Linked DNA regions of Homo sapiens: region 2 is linked to region 1. Evidence: promoter capture Hi-C in 16 types of primary human blood cells and fetal thymus (Javierre and others, 2016). All regions are on one chromosome and are shown on one strand. The core of a region is centred on a gene start or on the middle of the fragment in contact, and the rest is flanking DNA. Distances in the headings are between cores, read along the strand shown.

What was found. The method cuts DNA at HindIII sites, captures the fragments that hold promoters and counts their contacts. A CHiCAGO score of 5 or more calls a contact.
Region 2: a contact is called between a fragment that was not itself captured here and the fragment with the promoter of INPP5J in region 1, in 1 of 17 cell types (neutrophils). The highest score is 5.8, in neutrophils.

What each region holds. Positions count from the first base shown.
Region 1 is chr22:31,121,427-31,128,404 of GRCh38, reverse strand. INPP5J (inositol polyphosphate-5-phosphatase J) reads right to left here and starts at 5,439. Exons shown (of 13, transcript NM_001284285.2): 1 at 5,286-5,439; 2 at 2,395-3,560; 3 at 1,916-2,029; 4 at 1,684-1,792; 5 at 1,368-1,484; 6 at 873-1,048; 7 at 343-454; 8 at 82-191. The coding sequence starts at 5,390. The HindIII fragment of the contact is 6,854 bases long and covers 2,087-6,978 here.
Region 2 is chr22:31,325,671-31,332,744 of GRCh38, reverse strand. It overlaps PATZ1 (POZ/BTB and AT hook containing zinc finger 1), which reads left to right. Exons shown (of 5, transcript NM_014323.3): 4 at 3,821-3,958; 5 at 5,436-6,941. The coding sequence ends at 5,854. Among named protein-coding and RNA genes, the nearest start is that of PIK3IP1-DT, 6.1 kb to the left of the region's middle. RefSeq lists an enhancer at 3,082-3,766. The HindIII fragment of the contact is 5,762 bases long and covers 2,825-7,074 here.

The DNA.
Region 1 (6,978 bases), core at 4,190-6,689:
TCCTGCCCCTCTTCCCAAAGTCTCCCTGTTCGAGAAGACCTCAGCCCACTTCCCCTCAGTCCCTCCTCGGACTGAGCTCACCTGGTATCGTATTTGTTGGTACCCACATCAAACTTGAAGGTGGGAGCGAAGTTGAGGGGCCCCTCCTGAAAGCCCTTCAGAATGGGCCAGGTGTTCTTGGCCATGTTGAGCTGTGGGGGGTCCAGGAGAGCAGATTGGACAACAGCTTGGGCTCTGCTGTGCCCAGGGAGGGGGTGGGGCAGGTGAGGACAGGGACCATAGTCTAAGGTACAGGCGTGTCCTGGGACATGCTCTGTGTGCTTCTGGGGACAAGGACCCCACCTGGTCCTTCTCCCAGAGCTGATGGAGCTGGTCACTGTCGATGGCAAACTTGACAAAGTGCAGGTCATAGCTCTCAATGCGGAAGTTCAGGTCCCCGAACCAGAACACGAGGCTGTTTGGGGTGGGGGATGGGAGAGATGTGGGGGGCAGTGGGGGGTGTCAACAGGTCCATGGAGGATAAGGGCTCAGCCCAGATCCTTCCAGCCCATCCAACCCGAGGGGATGTAGTGAGTGGGTGAGTGGTGCCAGAGCCTCCAGCCCACCAAAGGGCAGAGGAAAAGCAGAGGGACCGGTCTACAGGAAATTAGGTTCTGACCTTCAGCAAGGCGGGGCCCCTCAGCAAAGCTCCACCCTACAAGCTCCGCCCCTCCCCATCCAACTGCTCTCTGCTTTCGTGTTCCTACAACTAGTTTGGGTGGGCACTAAACCCCATAGGCCCTGCCTCTCTCCATAAGCCCCACCCAAGGTGGTACAAAAACCCCCATCACTAGCCCCACCCAAGCTCTATTTGGCCCCACCCCAGCCCATACTCATGATCCAGGATGCCCTGTGCGCCCGGCCCTTGGAACTGCTGGAGGCTGAGGATGGTCTGGAAGTTGTCTTTGCGCTGCTCCGCCTTGTCCATATGCGCAGGCAAGTGGCAGTTCAGGAAGCAGAGCATGTGCCCGAAGGCCGCCAGGCGCACGCTCACGCCACCCTTGTTACCCTAGGGAGGCAGGGTCGGATGGCTCATGGGCGGGGCTTAGGCCAGGAGGTGAGGCACTGGGAGCGGGGGTTAGAGAGGAGATGTGGGTGGAAGGTGGGTGGGTCCTACAGAAATGAGGAACAACGCTGGGACACAGTGGGGAGAGAAAAGGGCGGGGGTATAGAGGAATAGGATGGGGTATTGGGTGGTGCATGGGGGGGCTGGGCCGCAGGGTAAAGGGTGGAGGATGGGAAGGGGACCTTGCTGTGCATGGGGCGGGGGGACTAATCTAAAGCCCCCTTCATGTCCCATCCTCTTCTGGGCCTGCTCACAGGCTCACCCAGTAGCCGCCCAGGCCAGTGCGCGTGCAGTCGGTCTGCACGTCTCGCAGGAAGGGCAGGTGGTAGTACTTGGCGAACAGCAGCAGGATGACACCCTGCATCCTCACCGAACTCACCTGCAGCGGGAGGCCACGTGGCTGGGGGACAGAACACAACTCCCCCGCCCTCGCGCCCACCTTCAGGTCTGCTCCTCCACCCACCCATGTCACGGACCCAGCCACAGAGGCCCAGCGGGCCCCACAGTGAGCCAGGGTACAGCTGGAGCCAGGAATTCAGCAGGGTCTCTGGCTGTCCAGGGGGTGAGGGGTGCGTTACCAGCACGAAGTTGAAGGGCCCTAGCGCATCCATGAACAGCTCACTCCACTGGTCCGTGAAGAGGGCGTCCTTGAGTCGCTTGTTGAGCATGGAGTTCACTTCCTGCAACCTGGAGGGGTGGGGGCAGGGTGGCCATGGGATTGGAGAGGTGCCCTGGAAGCCCCTGCCATGGGTGGAGGGCCCGGAAGGCCCGAGGGGCTCAGGAGGGGGTCCACATGCCCTGCCACCTCACCCTATGGCGATCATGTCTGCGCCGTCGCTGTCGTCACCACCGCCCAGGTGGAGGAGGGATGTGACATCGTCTGGGGGCATGGCAGTGCCCACGTTCCATGTGACCACAGTGATCCTGAGGGCAGGGGCATATGAGGGTGTAGTCCTGGCACCACTCCCTCACCCTCAAGCTTCCTTTCACAGGACTCCCTGGGGAACTAAATGGAGGCAGGTGTGGGCCAAAGCCCTAAGAAGGACCCACAGGAGGCCCCGAATCCTGTCCCTCTGCCACACTCTCCCTGGGGAGATCAACTGAGAGGCGGCAAGTTCCTTAGGAGGGGATGCTATCTTCTGAGCGTCACAGAGTGGGCCCAGCAACCCCCTCCCCAAAGACTCTTCCTCAGAGAGAGAAGCTGAGGTAGAGCACACCATCCACCCTGGAAGAATGGCTAACCTCAGAGCTAAGCCCCAGCCACCTTTCTTGGGAGAGGGCCCCCTCACCGGAAGCCGGGGTCGCTCTTCCAGGTAGGCTGAGCTGACCAAGGGGAGGATGACAGGGTGGATGTAGAAGAGGAGGTGGTGACTGGGGCTGGGGCTTCTTGGGCCTGAAGGTTGGGGCTCAGGCACCTGCCAGGCCCTGTACTCTGTGTGCCAAGCCTTGGGAGGGCCATGTCAGGGGCTGGGGGAACACAGGGAGAGCGATTCGGGGAGTGGCTTGGGGAACGGCTGGGTGATCGGGGTGGCTTGGGCAGAGGTGGGGGCACAGTCTGGCCTGAGGGGGCCCCAGGCCGGAAGGTGGGGGACAGAAGTCCAGGGGAGTGAGTGCCAGGCTCTGAAGGACCCTGGCCCACATCCAAGGGCAAGGTCTGGGGTGGCCGTGGCAAAACAGGATCCTCAGGGCTGCTGTGGAGGGCCTCAGGCCGGGCTCGGAAGGAGGGGGAGAGCCGAGGGTCTGGGGAGGTTTGGATGCAGGGTGGGGAGCCTGTAGGACCAGATGTCTGAGCTGGAGGCTGGAGATGCCCCTCAGAAGCAGGGAGAGGTCTAGGGGCTGGGGCATCCCTCTTTCTAGCTGATGTCTGTCCCACAGAGGCTGCGCCTGATGCCGTGGATGCTGGAGCCAGGGCCTGTTCCTGAGTTGGAGACAGAACTGGACTGGGCACCGGGGAAGGGGTGGAGGGGAGTTCTGGGGGCTGCTCCTCAGAAGCCAGGGCCAGGCTCAGGCCAGAGGCTGCCAGTGTTGGCTTGGGTCCCACGGAGGCAGGTGGCTCCTGCTTCTGGTCTCTGGAGGTTGGGGCCAGATTGGGCCCCAGGGTGACTGGGGGAGATCTTGGCCCTGCTGAGGCAGGCATCACCAGCCCCAGGGACGTCGGAGCCAGAACTGAGCCTGTGGTCGCTGGGGGAGGCTTTGGTCCAGCTGAGGCAGACATCACCAGCTGGCCCACAGATGTTGGGGCCAGGCTGGAGCTGCGGTGGGCAGTAGCTGTTTTCTGCCCTTCAGGGGTACACAGTGGAGCCAGGATTGGTCGGGGAGATGCCAGAGCCAGCCTCGGTCCTTCCGAGGAAGCTGACATAGCTGCCCGTGGCCCTACAGGTGCCAGAGCCAACCTTGGTTCCGAGGGTCCTAGGGCTGCGTTCTTCTTTGCTGGGAGCTGAAAACTTGAGTCCACCTTGTGGAGGACAAGTCAAAGATTCAGAGTGACCCTAACCAGGGCATTGGGCCCCAACTTCCATATAGACCCTGGCAGAGTTCATCTAGCTAAGAAAGGCACATCTTTCCAAGGAAGTTCTTCCTACTATCTCACTTCAATCTATTCTGCTGCAGGTCAACTTCTGTCTTGGAGGAGATAGGACACAAAACCCTAACCCCTCCTTTAAGTCTGAAACCTCTTTCACAGATGGGGAAACTCAGACCCTGACTCAAATGAGGCAGAGTGTGAACCTAAACCTGAGGACTTGCCTTGCCTTCCTGGCTGGCACCCACACCCTGCCCATTCGGGGCAGCTTCCCTGGGCAACCCTCCCACTGCAGTCCCTGAAGCTCCCCCAGCCACGGCTACTGACCTGACATCCCAGGTCTGGGCACACTGGGGACAGCCTGTTTCTTTTCTTTTTCTATTGTCAAGATACAGACCTACAGGTGCAGCTTGTTAAATACCTCTCCCTTCCTTCATAATGCCCAGAAACCCTCAGTTCCCCACCGCCCCCTAAACATCCAAATCCCTTGGTTACAGCCCTCTCTGTTCTCTTACCCATTCCCAGAGCTCCACTCAGGAGCAAGAGCTGGGAGCTGAGACTGGCTGTGTAGATTCAAAGCCCAGCTCTGTGTGACCTTAGGCAAGTACCTCTCTGCCCAGCGCCTCAGTTTCTCTGTCTGTAAAATGAAGGGATGGGGTCTAGGGTTCCTGGCCACATTATATTCTGGGGAATCTTCATCTCCCATTGTCTGCATTTATGAGCCCAACATTTGCTAGAATTCCATCTAGCCCCGTTGAATAGTCCATCCTCACCAAGTGTGAATCTAGCATTCAGAGCAAGTCCAGGATTCTAAGTTGATCCTGGTGTCACATCTCTCTGTGCCCAGGTTGTGCCCTCTTACATCCTCCACTTTCTCCCCTACCTGAAAGGACAGGCAAGCAGGTATCCCATTTATGTCCGGCAGGTGGGAGGGGTGGGGAGTCACGGAGTCCTGTAGAGACCTATCCTCCTTCCCCATCTATTCTCTCTGATGTCCCCTGTCTCCAGAAGACAGGATAAAGTGTCCTTCACCAAGGAGGGCAGAAGAATGTCTATACTTGCCCCAGGATGGCCCTAGGTAGGGTAACAGGGCGCAGGGAGGCCCTGCCTCTGGAGACGCACTTCTGTTTCTGTCCCGTATCCTTCTCAGTTCAGAGTACCTAAAACTCCATCTCCACCTCCCTTCTCAAACTCAGTTCTTTGAGGTGGCATTTTAGGCACCCTCCTTGGCTCCAAGTGTCACACTGTGTGCCGGCTTCCCCCCAACTATCACACCGCCTCCAGTACTAACAACTTAGCCATCCCAGATGTCACAGTTTTAGTCTTCAGCGACAAGCCCCCTCATTTTGCATTGGCTCAGAGAGGAAAAGCAACTTGGCCAAGGTCACACAGCAAAGGTGGAGCACAGCTGGGTCCTCTGATACCCAGTCCAGGACTCTCCCAAGGGCTCCTGGAGATGGCTAACTTCATCTGTCTCCGGGCATCCTGTCACTGCCCCTCAGCCCCCAGGGTGCTCTCTTCACCTAGCCCCTGCTCGCTGAGCAGAGGAAAGTACCAGCCCCTCAGTCAGGAGCACCAGGGAGCCTGCAGTGTATGTGGGGGGGGTGTGTGGAACCAGGGATCAGGAAAGCGGGGGGCACTGGGTCTCAGGGGTCTTACCTTGGAGGGTGCCCCAGTTTGGGCAACACCCTGGGGCATGGGCAGGGAACCCAGGCCAGCCCGGGTCCCTGGCCTCCTGCTGCCCCTGCTGCTCTGGCCCTCCATGTCTGCAGCCCCCGGCAGCCTGGACTCCCTTGGCTCCGGCTCCAGCTCTACCGCTCCCGGGAACCAGTGATGTCATCAGCCATTTCAACCTGCTGAGAATTTAAAGGCACAGGCTCCCACTTCCCAGCCTGGAAGAGGCCGAAGCAAGGTGGCTACCCCCTGGGAATCCTTCAAACTGGCTGCTGAGGCTGGAACAGCCATGGAGTGGGGAGGGGAGAGTGTACCCATCTGCCTGGCCCAGGTCCCAACTGGCAGCAGGAAGGAGGCTGTCTGTCTACCTTCACCTTTCTGCCGTAGGCCTGGTCAGCCCTTTGCTCCAGGGAGGGGCATTAACACACCTGCCTTAAGGTAGGACAGGTGGTTCAGAGGTCTGCACCCTCTCCAGGGCCTCAGAGACAACTGAGTTCTTGCCCTGATCCTGTGACCTTCCTGGCTCCCTGCCAGCTCAGAGCTTGCCCCGGCCCCCACCCTTGCCCCATTTTCAGGTCTTGGTGCCACCCTCTCCACTCCTACTGCCAGTCCCAGGCTCTATTCTTCCCAACCCAGAACCAGACACTCAGGCTCCAGCCACTGCAGTCTTTTCCCATCTCAGGCCTCAGCACCAGCCCCTCCTCTTCTGCAGACACCTAGCTGCCCTCAGATGTCCCCACAGCCAGGCCTAACCCAGCCCGGCTTCTGTCAGCTTTCTTCTCTCCAGTATTCACTGGGTGTGGTTTGGGAGGGGAACTTGCTCAAGGTCACCTGGTGAACTGAGAAGGTCTCCTGTGTTTCAGTGAGAAAACTTAGTGACCTAGGATGAGCACAAGCCCTTCGAGCTATCTGGGGGAAGGGAACTTGGGTGGAGAAGGGCCCAGCAGTGGGGTAACAGACTGACAAGAGAGTTACAAACAGGCCTGAGAATTGCTACAGCCAGGACCCAGCCCAGGACATGGTCCCCAACAGGCCTACGGGAGTGTTTGTTGAATGAATAAATGAATTAGAAGAGTGAATGGGTGATGAGGGTCAGATTGGGCTGGGATGGCTGTGGGATCTGTTTCTCATGGCTTAGAGAGGAGTGATCCCACCCACTTTAGGCAGAAAGTGTTCAGAGTTGTGTGTGCAGAGCTCCCTGTTAACCAACATGGAGCATCTGCATGGGCCTGTGCAGTCTCCTACATGAAGGCAGATGCCTCACTTTCCTCTCCTGAAGGCACTTCCTACCTCTGCTTGACTGTCAGTAGGTCTAGTCTGTATTCTCAGGCCAGCATCTCTGCTGGAATTTGCAGGGGCAGAGACTCAGGCCATATTAGAGTGTTGGGGTAGAAAGGTCTTTGGACAGCGATAGTGGAGATGGTGACAGTGGTGACGGGGAAGGCGACTGTGGTGATGGATGTGATGATGTATGTAACTGTGATGATGGAAGTAGGGGGCTAGCAGTGGTTGTGGTGAAGGTGGTGGAGGTGATGGTGATGGCAAAGGTAGAGGTGATGATGATACCAATACTGATGATGGTGTTGTGTCAATGAAAGAGGTAGTGTTGGAGTTGGAGGTGACAGTCAGGGAGGATGTGAGAGTAGACCTGGTGGTGATGCTCAGGTTACCAGAAAAA
Region 2 (7,074 bases), core at 4,456-6,955, 200 kb before region 1:
AGCACACAAGTGGATGGATGCAGGGAACCTGCTGTTCCCCTGGACTCACATCAAGCTATGTAGGCCCACTCCAACACAGTGCAGTTGGGAATGGCCCCTTCAGGGTTTGGACAAGGAGAAAGCAGTCCCCAACCCCTGCATTGATGTGGAACCTGCCAAAGGATGATTTGCTTCTGGAGTGCCAAGTGCAGGCACACCAGGCAAGAAAATGCAACTGAGGAGCAGTGGCCTTTTGCTAATAAGACCATCGTCTCTGGAGTGAAAGGGCCGGTGGCTTGTTGGTTGTAGTGGCAGTCATATGTGTGCTCAGCATCTCCATTGCGTGGATGGCTGGATCAAGCTGCCTCTTTGGATCTTGGTTAATCAGTGGTGAATGGGTGGGTAAGTTTAGAATTCCGGCTAAATATGTCTGGCTTCAAAGACGTATTCTGCTCAGAAGCTCAGCTTCTGTTTCATCCTAACACTTGGCTGCTGAGTTGCTCTGTGTTTAAATTCTAGGCTTTAAGTGGCAGCTGTGGATCCACTCCTACCACCCCGCCATGTGGTTTTGCTATAGATAGTACAGTCTGCAGCTGGGGTAAAGTCAAGAGGACTCAGCCACGTGTTTCTAAGACTGTTTTTCAGGAAAACTCAGCAAGACAGTTTCGCTGTTGTTGCCCAGACTGGAGTGCAATGGCGCGATCTCAGCTCATCACAACCTCCACCTCCTTGGTTCAAGCGATTCTCCTTCCTCAGCCTCCCTAGTTAGCTGGGATTACAGGCATGCACCACCACGCCCGGCTAATTTTGTATTTTTAGTAGAGACAGGGTTTCTCCATGTTGGTCAGGCTGGTCCGGAACTCCCAACCTCAGGTGATCTGCCTGCCTCGGCCTCCCAAAGTGCATGAGCCACTGCGCCCAGCCAAACTCAGCAAGTTTTTATTGAGCATCTGCTGTGTTCTCTTGGTATAGCTCTCCCAGTAAGGAGTAAACATAATAATTCCTGGTGCTCTCCCGCTCCTTTCTGTCCCCTTTTGATTGCAGTGGACCTGCTCTGGTTCATCACAGGGAGAGAGCTTCATGCTATTTTAGAGACCCCACAAGGGATTAAAAAACTAAGGAAAGGCCGGGCACGGTGGCTCACGCCTGTAATCCCAGCACTTTGGGAGGCCGAGGCGGGTGGATCGCGAAGTCAGGAGATCCGAGACCATCCTGGCTAACATGGTGAAACCCCGTCTCTACTAAAAATACAAAAAAAATTAGCCAGGTATGGTGGCGGGCGCCTGTAGTCCCAGCTACCAGGGAGGCTGAGGCAGGAGAATGGCATGAACCCTGGAGGCGGAGCTTGCAGTGAGCCGAGATGGTGCCACTGCACTCCAGCCTGAGCGAGAGTGAGACTCTGTCTCAAAAAAAAAAAAAAAGGAAAAAATTACCTTCTAAAGTGGTATCATCATATTATCAGAAAGTTCTAATATCTTGTACTGATTGGTGGGAGCCAATGTCTCCTGGTTCTGCTTTGTTTTAGGGGACTCTACAGTACCACCCCAAGGGGCAGGGCTAACAGCCTCTTTCCCATTAGCCTTGTCTCCTCACTCCTGACTACAGCCTCCCTCTTAGGGATGTCTACATGGGACCCTCTTACACCAATCTATACCCATGATCAGCCTCAGGCAGACCACTGCGGTCATAGCACAGGACAACTTGCTCTACCAGGCAGGGCAGGACACCAGCACCTGGTCTAGACAGATCTTTGAAGTAGCTGTATTGGGAAAGGAAGGAAAATTGGCCCAATCCCACATTTCCCTTCAGAACCACTAACTGCTGCTGTCAGAGGAGAACTTGTTAAATAAAGTTCCCACAGGCCAGCCCTGTTTTTCCAGCAGCTTCCATTCTAACATACCATTATGGTCGAAAAATACATGAGTGTAAATGGTAATAATGAAACCTATTGTAAAAGTCCACTGGATATTTCTAGGGCTCAGGGCTAAGACACAGGAACCAATTAACCCATTTATGCTGGAGGTTACAAACTTTTTTGTGAAAAATCAGACTTTAATGATGATCTTGAGCAGTAGGATACAAATAATTCCTAAAAGGTTAGCGTCCCAATAATGGAACATGAGGCATAAGTGGGTTAAAGCATCTGCCCAGTAGCTAAGGGCCAAGTTCTGGTGGCACATGATCCTGGGGTTGGAGTCCAGGCTCTGCCACTCAGTAGCTGTACGTGTGACCAGGTTACTTAACCTCACCAAGCCTCTTTTTTTTTTGAGACGGAGTCTCGCTCTGTTGCCCAGGCTGGAGCGCAGTGGCATGATCTCAGCTTACAGGTGCCTGCTACCACGCCCAGCTAATTTTTTATATTTTTAGTAGAGACGGGGTTTCACTGTGTTAGCCAGGATGGTCTCGATCTCCTGACCTCGTGATCTGCCCACCTCAGCCTCCCTAACCTCACAAAGCCTCTTATTTCTTTATCTGTAAAATGGGTATAATAGTAATCTGTAGCACAAAGGGTGTTGGGCAAATTCTATAGAATAGTGCATGCGGTGTGCTGGGCCCTGGTGTGCCATCAGCACTTCCTAAAGGTGAACCTTTATTACAGTTCCAGCAGCATTCAAAATACCATGCCAATTCAGACTTTTTTAAAACAAATCTCATGCAGACATTACACAGTACTCTTCAGCCTCTGACCCTTTACCCTTTAGCAGTGGATCTCACTGTTATCCTGTGACTGTGTAATTTTGAAAGTGAATGGAAACACCTGATGATGAGTCAACCAGATCTGAAGTGGATTAAAGGGACACTGTCAGGGTGCTGGCACCCTAAGTGGGCCTTATACTAAAAAGCTTCAGTTCCTGCTAAAAGCACCTTCTGATCCTTGACTACAGTGGGGTTTGATGGCATACCTCCTTCCTGTGAAACCCAAGTCAAAATCCTTTTATCGGCCTGCCTGATTCTGTATCCTTGGACGCATGGCTGCTGTGGAAGTTGGCCCAAGATGTGTTCTTCCCAGCCTGAGATATCTCGTGGATCAGACTGACCGAAGCATCTGGGAGGTGGGCTGGAACAGTCCCAAGAAGGCCGGATTGTCCTCCCCCAAAATAAAGACAGAGATCATCCGTGTTTCTTCTCCTGTACGCGAACCTGGTGGATGCTCCAAAATCGAACCAAAACACTACCATGAATAAGAGATGACTGCACTCCTCTGACACAACTTCCTATTTTTGTCTTTGTTCTTCAAAAGGTCTAAACAGTTACTAAATCCTGTTATGCTGAAGGTGGGGAAGTTAGAAAAATAGAACATCTCCTGACAGGTAGAAGACGGGATCCTTGGAGGCGTTCCTTTGGGATTTCATTTTACCTCCATCTCGTTTGTTGTCCAGTTTCCTTTTACGAGGATTAAGCAGGCATCCTGCTGGCTAGAATCCTGTGGCTTCCCTGGAGCCTCAAATTCTTGTCTAACCACATTTCTAGTCATGGTTCCTGCAGGAGACATCCACTCAAACCACCTGTTACTGAGGCACCAAGCAACCCTAGAGGCAGTTGGCCTCTGGCCCTAGCAGGAGCAGGATCTCAGGCCATCCCACCAGGCAGCCAGCCTCAGCCCCTCACCGCAGCCTTGCAGAGTGGGCTCTGCAGAGAAGCCGATTTGTGGACAGTGCCACCCTCCATCCTGAGTCACATGGCTCATGTGGTTGCAGCCATTTTTGAGCCAGGAGGGGGCCCCTTCTAGGTGCAGCTGACCTGGGAATGCTAGCCAGAGCGGCCAGAGGAGAGGAGTTGGGGGAAGGAGAGAGGTATCTCTTGCTGGCCGCGGGATCTCATCTCCTTTTGTCTTGTTTAGGTTTCTCCTCTGCCTCCTACTTAAAGGTCCATGTTAAAACCCACCACGGTGTTCCCCTTCCCCAGGTCTCCAGGCACCAGGAGCCCATCCTGAATGGGGGAGCAGCGTTCCACTGCGCCAGGACCTATGGCAACAAAGGCAAGCGACCCCTTGCTCTGCACTTTGCTTCTCTGCGCAGACTGTGTTGTGGGGGCGCTGGGCTGGGCGTGGGGAGGCGGGAAGGCTGCCGGCTTTCTGGCTGCCTTGAGGAGACTCAGAGATCTGAGTGGCAGTGGCCTCCAGGACAAAAGTCACAGTGGGTATCTCACTCCAGGGCAGTGAGTGAGGCTTTAGGGCACTGCCGAGATCCAGCCTCCGCCTCCTCTTCCCCAGCCCTCCTCCTTTCCTCCTGGCCAGCCCCCACTGTCTGGAGCCCTGCAGGGATGCCCCGGGCCCTGGGCAGAAGAAGAGCCCTGCATGATGAGTCACTATGGGCCTGTCACTGCCTGCTGCCCTTTAGGATGGTGTGGAGCTGCGGCTGAATGCTTTCTCCTCTTTTGACCCAGTGGGCCGGTGGGAGCCAATGTCTGGCTTCTCTCACAGTAGGAGTGGTTGGTTACTGTGAGTGGCCCTTTCTGGAGAGCCTCTGGCTATGGTTGTGAGATGCATGGCAATAATGAGCTATCTGACTCCTCTGACTTGGGAGTTGGTTTGCAGAAAGCTCCCCAGGCCCACCTTCACTTGTTGATTCAGGTTGTTTTGTGGTATGTCACGTTGTCGTTGCCTTGGGGATGAGGCCAGGGGCTTGGCAGATGGTAGAAACAGCAGAGATGGCATGCTCCATGCTCCCATCACAGACCTCCCTTCCCGGCATGGCTCTCTGGACCCAGGCAGGAAGCTGCTGATTGGTGGAGGACTCCAGTGTGGGCCGGGCAAGGCAGAGCAGCCAGGGTTGTCTCTTGGCCCAGCTTGTCTGGGGCCTAGGGTGGGGACACCCAGCCGACTGAGTAGTACAGAGTTGCTTTCAATCTCTGTGCTTGGGCTGCTTGGCCCTGAAAAGGTTTTGGCAGAAGGAAGGCGGTAAGGACAGGGCTATGTTTGCAGCATTAGGAAAAGGATTGGCTTCTGTCTGAGCCATTGATGGGGTCTACCCAGGTTGAGGACCTAATGGCTCTGGTTCTGCCTGTCTTGCTAGGGTGCAGCTAGTCTGGTGCAGGAGGCGAGGCTACTATTACACTGGCTCGGCATCATCAGAATACCAATTTTACCCTCAGAGGCACCCAAAAGAGCGCCTAGGAGTTGGGGGTCTTTGAGTTGTTCTGGGCAGCTGTAGCAGAGTTGCCCTCTCTGTATCCCTTCCTTGAAGCAGGCTGAGATGACGGTGAGCAGTACATGTGCAGCTGCATGAAGAGTCCACAGCAAGGGAGGCTGGCAGCCCTAGGGCCCTGCCGTTTCACCCCTGTAGGCACTCCAGGCTCCCAGACTGACCAGCTGACCCTCCGTGGGTTCTGCCAGGGCAGTGGCTGGCCAATGGCTGCCCTCCACAGGTCTGTGAGCTGGCCCCTCATGACCCCTCCAGGAGGGGGCATCTCCAGAGCCTGGCCTCATCGCTCTCCTATATTTTGTTTTTTCGTAGAAGGCCAGAAATGCTCACATCAGGATCCGATTGAGAGCTCTGACTCCTATGGTGACCTCTCAGATGCCAGCGACCTGAAGACGCCAGAGAAGCAGAGTGCCAATGGCTCTTTCTCCTGCGACATGGCAGTCCCCAAAAACAAAATGGAGTCTGATGGGGAGAAGAAGTACCCATGCCCTGAATGTGGGAGCTTCTTCCGCTCTAAGTCCTACTTGAACAAACACATCCAGAAGGTGCATGTCCGGGCTCTCGGGGGCCCCCTGGGGGACCTGGGCCCTGCCCTTGGCTCACCTTTCTCTCCTCAGCAGAACATGTCTCTCCTCGAGTCCTTTGGGTTTCAGATTGTTCAGTCGGCATTTGCGTCATCTTTAGTAGATCCTGAGGTTGACCAGCAGCCCATGGGGCCTGAAGGGAAATGAGGCAGCTGCTGTGTCCCCACGGAAACAACCATCTGGGGACTGCTGGGAAATGCTGTGAATGCGGAGGGAAGTGATGTTTGGGTTCTGTAGCTGAGAGATTTTTATTCATTTTTAACTGCCCCCCAACCCCACTCCAACTCCTTCTCCACCACCCATTCTCCCAATGGTCTTTAGAAATAGATTTTCATCTGATATTCTGCAGAAATATCAATGAGACTTGGTATGGGACAGGGGCAGAAAACACTACATAGGCCTCCAAGGCAAAACCAGTCCCAGTTTCTTTAATGGGAAGAAGCTGGAATTCCTGGTGCTCAATTCTTAGTGACCCCAATCCTATACCCAAATCTATGATATTCTGGGACCTCAGTGATTTTGGTCCCCTCCCACTTCTCTAGTTCGTCATCCTCCCTTCCCATATCCTTCAAAAGAACCACACTAGGGTCTCCACCTACTTATACAATGCGGATGCCCAACTGTTTTTAAGGAAGCCAGAAGCATCCCATGGACCATGGGGTGAGTGTCCTCCAAGAGCCCCCTGAGCTCAGCCCTCTGCCTGGAGGGCTCCAGACCTTTCTGAGCCCTGCTTGGAGGCGAGCATTTTCACTGCTAGGACAAGCTCAGCTGTTGAGGACACCCCCACCCCAAATTTCAGTTCTTACGTGATTTTAACCATTCAACATGCTGTTGGGTTTTAATTCTCTAATTATTATTATTATTGTTATTATTTTTTAGGACCAGTTGTAGTGAATTGCTACTGAAAGCTATCCCAGGTGATACAGAGCTCTTTGTAAACCGCAGTCACACATTAGGGTTAGTATTAAACTTTGTTTAGATGTACCATAATTAACTTGGCTAGTTGATTGTTTGAAGTCTATGGAAGAAATAGTTTTATGCAAAATTTTAAAAAATGCCAGTCTGGTCAGGGAAGTAGGGGGTTTCAATGCTGTTGGGAACCAGGAAGGTGGGACAGCCGGCAGGTAGGGACATTGTGTACCTCAGTTGTGTCACATGTGAGCAAGCCCAGGTTGACCTTGTGATGTGAATTGATCTGATCAGACTGTATTAAAAATGTTAGTACATTACTCTATCTGCTCCCTTGAGTCCAGTTTTTCAGCTGTGGGGGTCTTTGGGACCCAGAGGTGGGCAGTCCATACCCCAGCACCTGGGGTGGGAGTGGGATCCCAGGAGACCCCTTTTCCACTTCATTGCACCAGTTCCAC